Linked DNA regions of Homo sapiens: region 2 is linked to region 1. Evidence: promoter capture Hi-C in 16 types of primary human blood cells and fetal thymus (Javierre and others, 2016). All regions are on one chromosome and are shown on one strand. The core of a region is centred on a gene start or on the middle of the fragment in contact, and the rest is flanking DNA. Distances in the headings are between cores, read along the strand shown. Region 1 overlaps SLBP (stem-loop histone mRNA binding protein). Region 2 holds the start of NSD2 (nuclear receptor binding SET domain protein 2).

Region 1 (3,153 bases), core at 192-2,691:
GAGGCGGAGGTTGCGGTGAGCCAAGATTGCACCATTGTACTCCAGCCTGGACTAGAGTGAAACTCGGTCTCAAAAAAATCACTATCCGCTGGGCACAGTGGCTCACGCTTGTAATCACAGTACTTTGGGAGGACTACTTGAGGCCAGGAGTTCAAGACCAGCCTGGGCGACATAGGGAGACTCCCATCTCTATAAAAATTTAAAAGTTTAGCCAGGTGTGGCGGCATGCACCGCTGGTCCCAGCTACTCAGGAGGTTGAGGTAGGAGGATTGCTTGAGGCCAGGAGTTAAGACTACAGTGAGCCATGATGGTTGGGCGTGGTGGCTCACCCCTGTAATCCCAGCACTGTGGGAGGCAGAGACAGACGGATCACGAGATCAGCAGTGCGAGACCAGCCTGGCCAATATGGTAAAACCCCATCTCTACTGAAAATACGAAAATTAACCAAGTGTGGTGGCAGGCGCCTGTGGAGGCTGAGGCAGGAGAATCGCTTGAACCCGAGAGGTGGAGTTGAAATTGCGCCACTGCACTCCAGCCTGGGCAACAGAGCAAGATTCCGTCTCAAAAAAATGAATACACAGTGAGACATGATATAACACTGCACTTCAGCCTAGGTAACAGCAAGACTCGGTCAGGAGGGAAAAAAAAAAGCACCATCACATTGAATCTTACTATTCCTTTGCCAGCTATGTTCCAAAAAAGTAAAAAAAAAAAAAAAAAATTGTTTTTTTTGAGATGGAGTCTTGCTCTGTGACCCAGGCTGGAGTGCAGTGGTGCAATCTCGGCTCACTGCAACCTCCTCCTCCCAGGTTCAAGTGATTCTCCTGCCTCAGCCTCCCGAGTAGCTGGGACTACAAATGTGTGCCACCACGCCCAGCAAATTTCTTGTATTTTTAGTAGAGACGGGGTTCCACCGTGTTAGCCAGGGTGGTCTCGATCTCCTGACCTCATGATCCGCACTCCTCGGCCTCCCAAAGTGCTGGGATTACAGGCATGAGCCACTGCACTCAGCCAAAAGTAAAATTTTTTTTTTTAAGAGACAAAGTCTCATACTCTGCAGCCCAGGCTGGAGTGCAGTGGTGTGATTAATGGTTCACTGTAACGTTGAATTCCTGGGCTGAAGCAGTTCTCCCACCTGTCTCCCAAGTAGCTGGGACTACAGGTGCAAACCACCACACCTGGCTAATTTTTAAATTTTTTGTAGAGATGAGGTCTCCTTATATTGCCCAGGCTAGTCTCCTGGCCTCAAGCAGTCCTCTCGGCCTCCCAAAGTGCTGGAATTACAAGCATGAGCCATTGCACCTGGCCCAGAAATGTAAATTTCAACCCCAATCCTGCCAAAAAGTTCAGGAAAACACTAAAGCTTTCTTTATATCCTTCTGTGTCTGTGTGTTTGAGGGACCAGGATAGGCAAGAACATGCTGCTTAAAGACAATAGGGCAATGCCAATTTTTTTTTCTCCAATTAGAATTTTACAATATTTAACTTGAACTTCATTTTTCCCCATCATGTATTTTAATAAGCTTACATCTATGATTGCTGACTCCTAAGAAATAAAATGTTATCTAACATTCAAAATTATATGAAAATGATTTTTAAAATCTTCATGTCTTTAGTTTTCCAGTTGCCAATCCATTCTTTATTTACGTCATAAGCCCCAGTAAGTCCCTATTAAATAGCTCTTAGCAGGTGTGAACTATCCCCAGCATCATTTGTACTACCCAATCTAAGCAACTCTTTAGAAACGCAATGCCACACAGCTTGTTCAAGACATGCCACTGAAACAAGACTACCTTGGGACTTCTTTAATATAACGATCGTAGGCAATTGTGTTCTTCCCATAGTTGATCTGCTTCTGTCTCCTCATTAGGACACTTTCATCTGTCTCAAAGTCAGCCGGCACAGTAGACATAGACTCCTTTGAATCAGAACTGAAAAAACAACAGATTAACAGAATAAGCCCTGCAATTAAGATCACCATGTATGTAAGGTAAGCCAAGAAAATGTCAAAACACAATAATGGAAGATTCACTCCAGATTCCCAACCATATGAATCCTAAATAGTCCGGAGACTGCATGTATGGGAATTTAGTACACAACAGATACAGTATTTCAAATTAGTGAAAAAGGTATTAATAAATGCTACTGCGACAGTCAGCATTTCTGACAGTCACAATTTTTTTTTTTTAACAAATTACAGGTCTATCAAATTAGAAAAGAAACATTTACACAGCCTTTACCTTCCTGATGATGATTTTCTCTCTCTTCCAAAGTCATTGATGAGGAGTTTCCTTTTATATCTGAGGGCAAAATAAATATTGCTGTTTTTAAAAAAGATATAAAAATAAAGCAGCCAGGTCTGAGGAAGCTCCACCCTGATGCCCGCAGGCACACCATCCTATGCAATCCAGAAGCTCCGTGGGCCAAAAGAAATCTTTGTCAGGTTCAGTTTAAGTAGTGAGATCCACACAACAAAAATTTACATTCCCTAAAACTTGGCAGCCTTAAAAAAAGAAAAACAAAACATAAATTGAAATAAATTATTTTAAAAACACCAAACTTACTAATGGGACTCATATGCCTACTGGGCACTGCATACCTTCTCCAATCCTGGAGACCAAACGTGCCCCCTTTTCTCTTGTTCCTCATGAACTTCCTGAGGCATCTGCTTTCTATTGCAGTCATTACCAGAACGCAGTTTTGCAAAAAAAAAAGTATGACATCTCCAAAAGGAGTCTAGCGCAATCTGACGTTGAAACCACGAGCTACCTTGAGCTCCAAGTTCATGTGAGTATCTTTTTTTTTTTGAGATGGGGTCTCACTCTGTCACCCAGGCTAGAGTACAGTAGCACGATCATGGCTTACCACAGCCTCATATTCCTGGGCTGAAGCAATCATCTCACCTCAGCCTCCCAAGCAGCTAGGACTCCAGGCAAGTGCCGCCACAACCATCTCCAAAAAAATTTTTTTCTTTTTTTGGAGACATGGAGGTCTGTGTTGCCCAGGCTGCTCTTGAACTCCTGAGCTCAAGCAATCCTCCCGCCTCAGCCTCTCAAAAGTACTGAGATCAGGAGTGAGCCACCACCCCTGGCCTGTCATGCAGGTATCTAAATTATGTCATGTATTACTGTGCCTCCTCTCAAAATCTAAAAT
Region 2 (3,153 bases), core at 349-2,848, 170 kb after region 1:
GTGTGAGCCACTGGCCTTGGCTCCATTTTGAATTAATTTTTGTTAAGGGTGTAAAGTCTGTGTCTAGCCTGATTTTTTTTTGCATGTGGACATCCAGTTGTTCCAGCACCATTTGTCGAAAAGACTGTCTTTTCTCCATTCCATTTCCTAGAGTCAAGCTCAGCTGACTCCATTATGTGGTCTATATCCGGGTTCTCTATTCTGTTCATGGATCTATTTGTGTATTTTTCCACCAGTACCACAATGTCTCAATTACTGTAGCCTTATAGTAAGTCTTGCAGCAACCCTTGTTTTTTTGGGGGGGCCACAACTCAACCCATACAGGGGCCCAGCACCTGTGAAGGGACAGCAGCGGAGGCGGCGCGGGAGAGGAAGAGGAGGTGAACTGTGGCCACTCCTTGGTGGCTGGAGGTGGGTCCGGGGAGGCAGGACCTGGGCTGAGGTGTCGTTCTATAGCCCGGGTAGCGCACTTTCACAAAGCTCTCCTTGACCAAACTCTCGCCAGGCTCCCCTGGGCCCGCTTCTCAGCGAGGGCTCAAGCTGGGCCTGTAAAGCTCGAGCAGACACTAAGGCTCAAGGCCGAAGGTGTTCCCGGCTCCCTGAACCTGCGTGACAGAAAACCCAAGGCCGCCGGCTCCGGCAGCACCTGGAGGCAGGAGCCGAACTTCCATGGGCGGCGGGCAGCAAATCACACCGGCTTCAACCGCCCGGCCCGCCCACTTTTTGCAGCGTCTGACTTCCCCGCTCGCCCGCGCCGCTTCCTCCTCCTCCCTGTGCCGCACGCAGTCGCCCGCGCCACCCCCTGAAGCCCGGCTCTACCGCAGCGGCGCTGGGGTAGCGCCCCTGGACCAGGCGTCCTCCCCTCGCGAGCGGTCCTCCCGCAGCCGCGCCCAGCTCCGGGTCGGACCCTCGCCCGGGGGACTCGTTCACGCCCTGCGGCCGTTAGGCGGGAAGAGCACGACGCCCTGCCCTGCCCCGTCGTGGCGTCTGACCCTCTCCGCCACGTCTGTTCTGAGGCTCCGGGCCCGCCACGGCGGGGCCTCTGCGGCGGTTTCCCCACCCGTCCCCGCACTGCCGCTCCGCGAGGCGGACGCCGCTAGCAGCCTCCCGCGGGCCCCAGGCCCCGCGCCCCTCTCACGGGACAGGAGCTTGGGGACCCGCGCGGGCGGGCCGCGCGCCCAACGCCAGCCTCCGCGGCCGCGCGCCCACGGCTCGGGGGCGCCGGCTCCGGACGGTGATTGGGCGCGGATCGTGACGTCACTGAGCGCGGCGCCCGCGGGCGCCGGGTCTGGGCCGGGTGCGCGCCGCCGAGTAGCGGGAGCAGGGCGCGCGCCCGGCGCTACTCTGAGGCGGCTCGCGGGGCCCGCGGCCCGGCCCTCCCGGCGCTGCCAGCCCCGCCCGCCCGCGCGGCCCCCACCCGCCGCGTGCCTGCCCGCCCCGCCCGTGCGCGGCCCCGGCGCGGATTTGAAAAGCCCGGTCCGCGGGCCCCGCGAGCGCGGCAGCCAATCAGCGGCGCGCACTTTTCCCGCGGCTTCTGCGAGGCGGCGGCGGCCCCGGCTGCGGCGGCGGCGGCGGGCGGGAGGCGCGGGGGCGGGGTCGGCGCCGCGCGCGAGAGCCTCGGCCTGGCCGCGCTGCGCCCGCCGCCGCCGCCGCCCCCTCCCCGCCTGGGCCCTACCGCCGCACGGCCCCGGCCCCCTCCCAGCCTGCCGCTCCGGAGAGCCGCCCGCCGAGGATGCGACGCACCGCAGGTCACTGGGGCGCCCGCCCAACAGTCGCGGGCCGCCAACCGCCGGGGCTGGGGCCGGGAGGCCGGGCTGTGGGAGGCCTGAGGGGCGGCGGGGAGGACCGCGGAGGCCTGAGGGGGCGGGAGCGCCGGGAGGAGTGGGGGCACTGAGGAGGCCTGAGGGGCCGGCTCAGGGGCTGGGGGACCGGGAGGCCGGGCGGCCTGAGAGGGTCGTGGGGACCGCGAGGACCGCGGAGGCCTGAGGGCCGGCGGGAGGACCGGGCGGACCGCGGAGGCCGGGACGAGTCCGGGCAGGGGAGGGGCGGCGGCCTGCGGGCGGCGGCGGCTAACGGGGCCGGGCGGGCGGGCGCGGCCATGTTGGGCCCGGCCGGGCCCTGCGGCTGCACCTGTGCCCGGCCCGGCCGAGGCGGCCGCCTTTGTTCCCGCGGCGCCGAGCGGGTCGGGCCGGCCTTTGTGCGGCGCCCCCGGTCCGGGGCGGCCGCGGTGGGAGGGGCAGGTTGGGGTCCCGGGGCCGGCGCCGGGGCCAGGGGTCGGGCCGAGGGTCGCTTTTTGTTTGCAGGCGGTGTCTGGCGTTGACACTCGCGGCGCCCGGGCGTTGGTCAGCGCGGACGCTCCCCCGGGAAGCCGGGCCGCGGTCCGGCCCTTGGCAGGTGGAGGCGGGGGTGAGCCGGGTGTGGGTACCCTGCTGGGGGGCTGCGCGCCCTCGGCGTCCGGGCCTCCGCCTGGGATGTTCCCCTCGCCCCAGGATGCAGATTGATAGTCCTTGAAGCCTCAGTGCATGAGATGGGACCTGGCGACTTAATGGCTGGTTTTGCTCCACTCACAGGAACCGTGGTTTAAAATCTCGGCGTTTAAAAAATGCTGGTCTTAAGTTTCGGTAGAAATAAAATGGATGAGGGTATTGTATAGGACCCATTGCAGCACGAATCTTTCTGTGCCCACGATGGGCTTTGACATTCAAGTGGAAACATAGTATCAAAACTGATGTGGTGACGTTAATCGTTTTTAGGTAGATAACGTGTATTTTGTGTGTGTGTGTGTGTGTGTGTGTGTGAGAGAGAGAGAGAGAGAGAGAGAGAGAGAGAGAGAGAGAGAGAGCGCGCAGACCCTGTGAAGACAAGACTAATTGGATAAAGTTCAGGCCTGGCTCAGGAGCAGCTCTTCAGTGCTACCCACCTGCTTCACAGACTTTCAAGCCTTGATTTTTAAATGAGTTAAACGCCAGCATCACGCATGGGTTATATTCACTCTATTTTGTGTATTTCAAATATCAACGTGGAAAATAACTTAGGAGCCATCCCATTTATGAACTTGGGACTTAAACTTTTTAATTTTCCCAAAATGTTTTAAGTGCCCTAGTTACGTATTTAAATGTGATGAGAACAACAATATTTTAAAGAGCAGAACGC

The links. Contacts are between HindIII fragments. The CHiCAGO score rates a contact against its expected background, and 5 or more counts as called.
Region 2: a contact is called between the fragment with the promoter of NSD2 here and a fragment that was not itself captured in region 1, in 1 of 17 cell types (naive B cells). The highest score is 5.0, in naive B cells.

Annotation. Positions count from the first base shown.
Region 1 is chr4:1,697,771-1,700,923 of GRCh38, forward strand. SLBP (stem-loop histone mRNA binding protein) reads right to left here. Exons shown (of 8, transcript NM_006527.4): 4 at 2,241-2,300; 5 at 1,794-1,931. Among named protein-coding and RNA genes, the nearest start is that of SLBP, 13 kb to the right of the region's middle. The HindIII fragment of the contact is 160 bases long and covers 1,362-1,521 here.
Region 2 is chr4:1,869,795-1,872,947 of GRCh38, forward strand. It overlaps NSD2 (nuclear receptor binding SET domain protein 2), which reads left to right and starts at 1,599. Exons shown (of 22, transcript NM_001042424.3): 1 at 1,599-1,748. RefSeq lists an enhancer at 528-1,029 and silencers at 763-1,022, 1,053-1,282, 1,333-2,032. The HindIII fragment of the contact is 4,701 bases long and covers 1-3,153 here.